Linked DNA regions of Homo sapiens: region 2 is linked to region 1. The links are contacts of gene promoters, found by promoter capture Hi-C in human tissues and cell types (Jung and others, 2019). All regions are on one chromosome and are shown on one strand. The core of a region is centred on a gene start or on the middle of the fragment in contact, and the rest is flanking DNA. Distances in the headings are between cores, read along the strand shown. Region 1 holds the start of LBP (lipopolysaccharide binding protein). Region 2 overlaps KIAA1755.

Region 1 (4,614 bases), core at 1,488-3,987:
TCCTGCACAAGAACACAATAAACAGCCTTGTTAAAAGAGTCCCTATTTCACTGCAATAAGACTGAGTGGTGGCCAGAGTGGTAGCAGCTGTTGCTTTTGTGGAATTGGATGGACAGCCTGGTAGGAGAAAGGCCCAGGGGTTCTGACCAGCAGTGGGGTCGTGCTGCTCCCTGAGGCCTCTGCTGGGTCCTGGGCCATCAGCAGGGACCTTAGCCAGCAGTGGGCACCTGCAGGGGTGGAGGCCAGGCCTGGGCCATGTGGCAGCTCTAAGGTCCAAAGATTGCTGCTGTGGGAAATTCCCACCCCTGCAAATGACTCCCAGCCAGGGACATCCTTAAACTGCTGCCAGAGGAAGAGTGACATCTATGTCCCCATAAGATCCTTATGCTCCAGAATGTCCTCCCCCACTCTCCTCCCCTCCTGGGCAGGCTGAGGTCCAGGAAGCAAAGGCCCCTAGGCACACTGGGGATGCACCTGTGAGCCCTTTCCTGCTCCAAAGCCTCCCAAAGGCTGGCTCCTTACCCTGAGGCCTCTGCTCAGCTTGTTGCCTCCCAAGAGAACCCTGCCCTGACCAGAGTTTTGGAATGGCATCCTGCAGACCTGGACTTAAATTCCTGCTGGGTGACTGCAGCCTACATCACTTCACCCTGCCAAACCTCAGTTTCTTCATCTCAAGACAAGACTAAAATATCCACCTGGGGTTGCTGATGCAAGGATGAGAGGAGACGTGCAGCTTAACCAGCACAGCGCCTGCACATAGTAGGTGCTCAATAAATATCAGTTTCTTTCCAATTTCTGCTGGGTGCTGCAAGGATCTCAGGAAATGGAAGACTCAGCCGTGCCTGCAAGGAGCCATCAGACTGGTGGTGTGGGGACTGAGGGGAGGGACGGATGAGGATCCCAACAAACCTCAGCCCCAGTGACAGGAGCAACACGGTACAGAGGAGCAGAGAGGCCTGGACTGTGGGGTTCCCTGTGCTTAACGTGGGACATTCTGATCTTAACCTCAGTGCCTGCCAGTGCTGTTTGTGACCTATTGGGAGTCACCCTGTTAATCCCACCACATTCAGTTGGTTGAGGCCATCATGAAAACCTGCCCAATTTCAAGGGAAGGGGGCAGAAACATTACCTTTTGATGGAAGGAATATCAAAGAATTCGTGGGCATATTTTTAAAGGACCACAATTATCAAAAAGCAGAGTGGTTAATGCTGTGGTGGGGAAAGCGCAAAGGGTTCTGGGACCTCAGAGGGGACCCTTTCTAGAATCCAGAGAAGCATGGGAGTGGTCAGGGAAGGCTTCCTGGGGGTGAGGGCAAAGCAGAACTCACAAATGTAAGCAGGGCTGGGGCAAAACTCTAAAAATTAAACACAGTCTGTACTATAAATTTTGTTTTCCAGAATGAAATTTTACTATCTTTACTTACTGCGAATATATGCCCGGGACCATACCCCCAAGAAAATAAAAATTTTAGAGGCTGGGCATGGTGGCCCAAGTCTATAATCCCAGTATTTTGGAAGGCCAAGCGGGAGGCTTACTTGAGCTCAGGAGTTCGACACCAGCCTGGGCAACATAGCAAGACCTCGTCCCTACTAAAATACAAAAAATTAGCTGGACATGGTGGCTCACACCTGTAGTCCCAGCTACTTAGGGGGCTGTGGTGGGAGGATCACTTGAGCCCAGGAAGTTGAGGTTGCAGCGAGCGATGTTCATGCCACTGGACTCCTGCTTGAGCAACAGAGTAGACTTTGTCTCAAAAAATGAAAAAAGAAAAAAAAATTGTACGTATCAACAAGCAAAAACTTTTTTAACACTTATAATTCTACCCCCACAACCAGAGACAATGCCTCATGACTCCTTGCTAAATATTTTCCAGATTGTTGAACATAGAAGCCTATTTTGAACCCCCCAAAATAGAACCTTACTCTATGGTGCCATCGGAAACGGATGCCTCATGACATCCCTTTCCTTGCCAAGAAATACCTTTATTTCTGCAGCCTCACTTTAAGGGGCATGTCATAATTCATTTAACCAATGCCCTTCTGGTGGATACATGAGGTTGGGTCTCACTTCTCCTGTCCTGTTTCCCACAGCATAGCAGTGGTATCTTGGAGCAGTGATTTACTGGCACACTGACTCAATTATGTATTTAAGGGCAAGTCCCTGAAATTGAATTCCTGGGTCACAGGGCATGCAACTGTTTAAACATTTGCCAATTGCCTTCCAGAAAATTTCACCACCAGCAAGGTTTGAGAAACACTGTTTTCCCATTGGGGGAAACATTTATTTTTTAAATAAACGAGCCAATATATTTTAAAAAAGAGAGTTTGGTTGGTGCCAGATGTAGCTTCACTCTCAACCCTGCCCTCTGCTGGGGGTGAGATCTCAAGGGAGCTATGTGGCTTTTTTGAACCTCAGTTTCCTCATCTGCTAAACCAGGCCTTCCTAGCCGAGCTCTTAAGAGACTGGCTGAGATGAGGCAAGATGAACAGTGATGAATATGGGGTCTTTCTGTGGGGAGGGTGGACAGGGATGATCATAGGAGTCAGGCTTCCTCATCCACTGATCTGGGCAGTGAAAACTGGCTTCTAAGTATGACCTTATGACTTCAGTGATGTCGCAAGCAGGTTCCAGTCCCTGTGCCTCCCCTTCCCGCTCCCAGGAACCCATCCAGCCTCAGGAACTGCCCCCAGCCATCGAGCCTTGGCTACTTAAGGGACCTGGGCCCAATCCACAGCTGGGACAGTCCTGGCCCACTGCACTGGGAATCTAGGATGGGGGCCTTGGCCAGAGCCCTGCCGTCCATACTGCTGGCATTGCTGCTTACGTCCACCCCAGAGGCTCTGGGTGCCAACCCCGGCTTGGTCGCCAGGATCACCGACAAGGGACTGCAGTATGGTAAGAAGCCACATCTGCTGGCTGGACTTGGCAAACCCACGCTCCAGGCTGCTCTGGGTACAGTGGGGACAGGGAGTGGGGACACAGACCGGACCCTCTCCCTGGGGCAGTGCCACCTTCTGGGTCAGGTGGCTCTGGCTCCTATTCTGGCCTTACTGCCCACCAGCTGAGTGCCCTGGGCATGTTATTTGTGGTAGTGAGGTCCTCCACCAGCCAACAGAACACAGCTTTGCGTGCAAGTAGTTGATTTGGGAAATGATTCCAGGAAACACTGTAGGGAATCGGTACTGAGATGAGGAAGGGAGGGCAGCCAGGAGAGAGTGTGCAATTAAACCAGCCACCACCTCTGATGATGGGAACCACTCAGCTGGGAAAATTCTGCGTAAAGTTTGGAAACACATGCCTCTGAACTGGAAGTCAGAATTGTGGTCACCTCTAGAGGCAGGCAGAGACCCTGAAGGGCATGAGGGAGGTCTGCCGGGGTGCTGGAAGTTGCCATATCTTGATCCAGGTGGTGATCACATTCCTGTATAAACATTAAAAATTATTTAGCAATACCTTTAAAATTTGTGCCCGTTAGGTACTTTATGTATATTATTCCTCAATTTTAAAGAATGGGCAGGCCAGGCACAGTGGCTCACGCCTGTAATCCCAGCACTTTGGGAGGCCGAGGTGGGTGGATAGCTTCAGGCCAGGAGTTCGAGGCAAGCCTGGCCAACATGGTGAAGCCTCGCCTCTCCTAAAAATACAAAAATTAGCCAGTCTTGGTGGCAGCCAACTGTAATCCCAGCTACTTGGGAGGCTGAGGCAGGAGAATCGCTTGAACCCGGGAGGCAGAGGTTGCAGTGAGCCGAGATCATGCTGCTGCATTGCAGCCTGGGCAACAGAGGGAGACTGTCTCAAAAAAATAAATAAAAATAAAACAAAGAATGAGCAAAAGTAGGAGTATTTTTTTTTAAATACTGAAACAAAGCCTCCCGACTATCCAGGTGGCATGGGAACTGGGATATTTATACACCACAGTGATTGATTGAGGGCTTCTGGGCCGGGGGTTTGTCAACTCCCCAGCACTTCTGTCCTGTTGCATGTACCTGCTTTCTGCAGTTCCAGGACAAAAAGCCTCGGGACATACAGGCTCAGGGAGGCAGACATTGGCAGCTGGGAGTCAACTGTCACTCACTGGAAAGACTCAAGGATATGGACAGGCACTGACCACATGTCTTCTCACATCCCTAGAGCCTCAATTGCCTTACCTATTAAATGAGATAACAACATTCCCTTAGATAGGGTTGTTGGGAGCCCAGACTGGCTCGAGACAGGCAGAGGGAAATCAGGGAAGGATTCCAGGATATAGTAAAATGGAAAAGACAGTGGGAATTACCCAGGGACAAGGGGTAGCGTTCCAGGCGGAAGGACCCCAACATGTGCGTTTGCTAGAGGGAGAAGAGCAAATTGGAAAGAGGTGAAAGGGGAGGCTGCTGGTCATCTGTGTACCCATGTCTGCCTTGGGGACAGAAACCTGGGCCCCTCAGATCTCGGAACAGTGGGACCTGGTAACTGCTACTTGCATTGAAACTGTAAATCAGGGAAGTTTCTCTTTTGTTCCTTTGCACTGTGCACACACACCATGTTTATGTAACCAGTCCTCTGAGGTTGGACATTTTGGTCCTTTCCATATTTTTTTTTTTTTTGAAACGGAGTCTCACTCTGTTGCCAGG
Region 2 (4,614 bases), core at 1,535-4,034, 130 kb before region 1:
GATGGGGAAAGGAGGTCCTAAGGAAGTACCTGACTACCCAGAGTTCCCCAGCATGCCCCAGGCAGAGGGCAATGGGACCCCCAGAGTCCTGCCGCCTATCCAGAGCACTTACCCTACAGGGGACTCTCTGGCTCTGGCCTCAGAGAGCTATTTTCAGCTGGGGTTTGAGACGAGGCAAATTTGTCCTGGGCTGGAGGCCAATTCACAGCCCCTGGAGAACAGGACATCTCTGCTTTATGAGGTCAGACTGTATTCTGACCCCAGCCAGCCACCCTGTCTGGGTCTAAAGTGGGTGTGACAGCCACCCTGTCTGTGTCACAAGGGTGTGAGGGGCCTACCTCAAAGTGGCTGACAAAACACACGCTCATCCACAATCCTGGGTTTGGCATTGATCCAGAACCAGGCCCAGACCCTGTGCTTTCCCCTTCTTGGCCCCTTTCCTGGCTGTGTGACCTTGGGCAAGTCATTGCCCCTCTCCAGGCTTTAGTCTTCCCATCTGTAAAATGGGGCCATCTCAGAGTATGACTTCTGTGACCCAAAGGGTTGTAGTAAATATCAGATGGGAAATAGATGGACAAAAAGTGCTTTGCGAACTGTAAAGTGCCTAGACTTCTATTGGGGCTCAGTCCTATGTCTGCCCCACATCACTGCCCAGCAGTGAAAAGTCTTTTCAAAGCTTTGTTCCTTCACAAGATGGCTACTCCTCTGGAAAGGAAGAAGTCTTGGTGTGGAACACAAGGATCCAGAGATCTTATTTTCCTGACCCAGCAGGCTTGGCAAATCCAGTGGACAGATGGAAAAACTGAGGAGCACCTATCTACTCAGAGGCACTAGGCTGTTAAGCCTGGATTCAAAAGCAGGGCTCTCCAAGATGAGAAAGATCCTCATCCATCCAACGCCTCCATTGGAAAGATGGGGTAAACTGAGCACCAGAGAGAGGAAGCAACCTGCCTCGGGTGACCAGGCCATCAGCAACAGGGCAGAGTGGCACCTGAAGTGCCTGACTTCCAGGCTGTGCTTCTCTTTCTGTCTCTTGCCTACCAGCCCCTTGAGCTTGAAAAAAGTGTTCCCATCACAGTGGGATGTTGACAGTCACATCACTGGCTGACTTGGGGTTCCTTGAAAGCCCATCTTCTTCCACCACAGCAGGCTTCAAACTTTGTTTAAAAATCCCATGGAGGGGCACTGTGGCCTCTGCCTCCTCAGAGCAGTCTCTCAGGGGCTGAGGCTTTGCTGATTCAAAGCTATGTCATCACTCGCAGGGAATCTCTGGGGGAGGCCATGCCATGCCATGCCCCTACTGTGGGCATATTTGGGCAAAGTCAATAAACTAGGCCCAGATCAAGTCCAGCTCTGCCCCTCACTGTGGCACTGGGCAAGGTACCTCCAAATCTCTCTGAGTTTCAGCTTTGTCCTCAGTAAAATAGGGTGGAATCAGTCCTCATAATGTTGTAAAAAAAATTCAACAAGCCCTGTAAAGCTTTTAGAGGATTTAGCTCAAAGCTAGGCACAAAGAAAATGCAAAAGAAATGTTAGCTGTTATTATTCGATATTTTTATACATTGTTACTCATTATGACATTTCATTTCTGCATTCCCTTCTTCCCCAGGGGATGCAGTGAGGGGAGAGATTGTTGGGGTACAGTTCTTTCTGGGGACAGAGGGATGCACAAGGTAACCTTGGGGACTCCTCCCGCCCAAGTATTCTTAGATTACCTGTGCCCGCTTTGCCCCCCTTCCTTCTAGCAGTAGCTGTGGTCTCTCACAAGTCAGTTTCCATCCCAGCACCCCAGTTTCTGTGGCTCCCTGCCTGTGGTACCCACTGGCTGGATGCTGTTGCTATGGCAACAGCATTTTAAAAGCCGTCGGCCCTCTCTGAGGCAACAGGCATGGATGGAGATGGGCTGATCAACGCCTCTTGCATCTTTGGGCCTGTCTGGATGGAAGGCAGGGAGGGGAATGCAAGAATCAAACCTGGCTTTGGGTGGAGGACTCAGGCCCCAGCCCCGGGTGTTCCCCAAATGCACCCCCACTTTGCTGAGTCACACAGGAAGAGCACTTGGCTACAAACGCAGATTCCAGCCACCTGCCAGCACCAAGAGTCTATTTTAATGTCTGGGGTAGGATTCCCTAGGAAGCCTTTTGACCGGCTCTGCTCATGGCTCTGAGGCAGGCAGGCCCTAGACCACACCTGGGGAAGTCTTCAGTCTTGGAAGATTCCTGAAGCCATTTTAGGTATCAAGTGTGTGACTCTTGGCTGAGACAGCTCCTGAGAAGCCCTAGTTGTCCTCCTGTGCCTGGCCCAGGCCTGCCTCTCTCCCCTTCACAGCCTCATTGTGGGGGACCTGTGCCCCACAGCCTCTTTCTGGAGCCAGGAAAATTCAGAGCTAGGTGACCAAGAGGCCACTTCAGTAATGCATCCTACTGCAGAGGTAAGGCAAACACTTTCAGCTTAATGACACTCCAGAGAGGCGCTGGCAGGGGCCACTCTGGCCAGTATGAAGGGTGGGGCTTCTGGATGCTCCATCTAAGATCCGACAGATAGGCCCCTTCCCACGGTCCCCAACCACCAGGACCCAGCTGCCCACAGAACCCCAATGGTACTGGGCCACAGAGGCTGGGCATAGAGAAGTGGAAGTTGGGCAGGGAAGGGGACAGAAGACATTGAGTTCAGGGAGGCTTGGTGGGGAGGTGAGAGAGAGGAGGGACCTCTAAGGCGGAGAGGATTCTCTCTGGAGGACAAGGACAAGGTTCCACAGGGTTCCTTGAACTTGAGAATGAAGGTCCCATGCCTGCTGAAGAGGCCTTGTGAGACAGGGAGCACAGAAGACATGTCCTTCCTTTCTAAGCACAGGAACCGGCCTCTGGCTCCAGGAGGCAATTCTCTTTGCCAAGACCAATGGAGCTGGCTGTGCGTGCTGTCTACGAGTGCCAGCTCCTGAGGGTTGGCAGATAAATGCTCTGGATGCCTCACGCCTCAGGGGGTGTTCAAGGATTCCATGCTGTCTTTCAGAGATCTCCAGAAAGATCCAGCTACAGTTGCCAACATGGAAATTTGTATGAGGGTGGGGCACAGTGGCTCATACGTATAATCCCAGCACTTTGGGAGGCTGAGTCCAGAGGATCACTTGAGCTTGAGATCAGCCTGCCTGGGCAACATAGCAAGACCCCATGTCTACAAAAAATAAATAAATAATAAGCTGAGCATGGTGGTGCATAACTGTAGTCCCAGCTACTTAGGAGGCTGAGGTGGGAGGATTGGTTGAACCCAGGAATTTAAGGCTATGATTGCACCACTGCACTCCAGCCTGGACACCAGAGTGAGACCCTGTCTCTGGTGGGGTCGGGGGGGGTGGGCGGAAAAGGCAATCCCAGCACTTTGGCAGGCCAAGGCAAGAGGATCACTTGAGCCCAGGAGTTTGAGACCAGCCTGGGCAATGTAGTGAGGCCCCATCTCTAAACATAAAATACAATGAAGTTTTAAAAATTAAAAAAAAGAAAATTTGCTTGACAACATACTCTTTATTCCCTTTGCAGATTCGCCTCCTACTCCCCCAGCAGAGGTTCCTGGATCAGCACCAAACACACTGATCCTTAAATCCTCATCTCAGGGTCCATTTTCCTGGAATCCAAGACAAGGAAGCACTCCCGAATCTCCCCGAGGATTCTGCCTAAGGGCAACACTGGCCCTCGTACCCGAGGGGAGAGCTGTGTATGTTCCTGAGCTGCAGGTGGGTGTCTGCCTGCCTGCGAGCGAGACCTCTGGAGGGGTCTGTGCCGACAGGTCTTTCCACAATGAGAGCCTGGAGGGATGGAGCCAATCACACCATTTATTGTGCCCTGGTTCTGACGCCCACTCTTGCTATTCTGCATGGGTGAAGATCGGGTCTTCCAGGAGTTTTCTGGAGCCAGGGGCAGGTCGACAGTTCTCATCCTCCCAGCAGAGGCAGAATGTAAAACCAGTGCTCCATGGTGACGTCTCACTGGGACTGACCAGAGCTCCCAGCTACCCCTCCAGCTGGGCCCTGGCCCAGTGCTCCTGGAGGCTGGTGCGACTGAAGGGGCCTCTCAGCTAGAGGGAGGCAAGGGGACTTGTCTGGGGTGAGTCCTCAAGGGATGTCTGTGAGTCTGTCCCCTCTGAGGAGAAGCTGCCCCCAGTGAGGCGAGGGACCTGGCTCTGCCTGGGGGGCTGCTGCCGGAAGAAGGTGGTGGCAAGCAAATGCTCGCGGGCAGGGTCAGGCAGCTTGTGGGAGCCTTTGCCGTCTTCAGCCTCTGCAGCCTGGCCAGCTTCCTGGGGTGGAGAGCCTGCCTGGAAAGTTCTGTTCTGTTCCCCTCTGGGGGGCCCAGGAGGCCAATAGGACTTTGGCAAATGGTCCATGCCCAGTGAGTCTAGTGGAGGCTGATCCCACCTCCCCTTGGAAGTGACCTCTACACTCACACCCTGGCCCTTGGCTGCCACCCCTCTTCGTTCTGGGCGCGCTGAGTGAGCAGCTGGAGCCTCTGGGCAAGAGCTGTGGGTCAGTGCCTTCTCCAGGAGCATCCGGATCTCCTCATGCCTGATCCGGGCCTCCTCCCATAGCTCCTGGCCCAGGCCTGCCCGGCTCAGGGAGGCCAC

Evidence for each region. Contacts are between HindIII fragments. The study calls those that stand out against the background at their distance.
Region 2: a fragment that was not itself captured here is called in contact with the fragment with the promoter of LBP in region 1 in 1 of the 25 tissues and cell types used here (spleen).

The regions. Positions count from the first base shown.
Region 1 is chr20:38,343,745-38,348,358 of GRCh38, forward strand. LBP (lipopolysaccharide binding protein) reads left to right here and starts at 2,738. Exons shown (of 15, transcript NM_004139.5): 1 at 2,738-2,896. The coding sequence starts at 2,773. RefSeq lists an enhancer at 14-791. The HindIII fragment of the contact is 17,182 bases long and covers 1-4,614 here.
Region 2 is chr20:38,208,971-38,213,584 of GRCh38, forward strand. KIAA1755 reads right to left here. Exons shown (of 14, transcript NM_001029864.2): 14 at 1,533-4,614. The coding sequence ends at 4,072. Among named protein-coding and RNA genes, the nearest start is that of TGM2, 46 kb to the left of the region's middle. The HindIII fragment of the contact is 7,984 bases long and covers 1-4,614 here.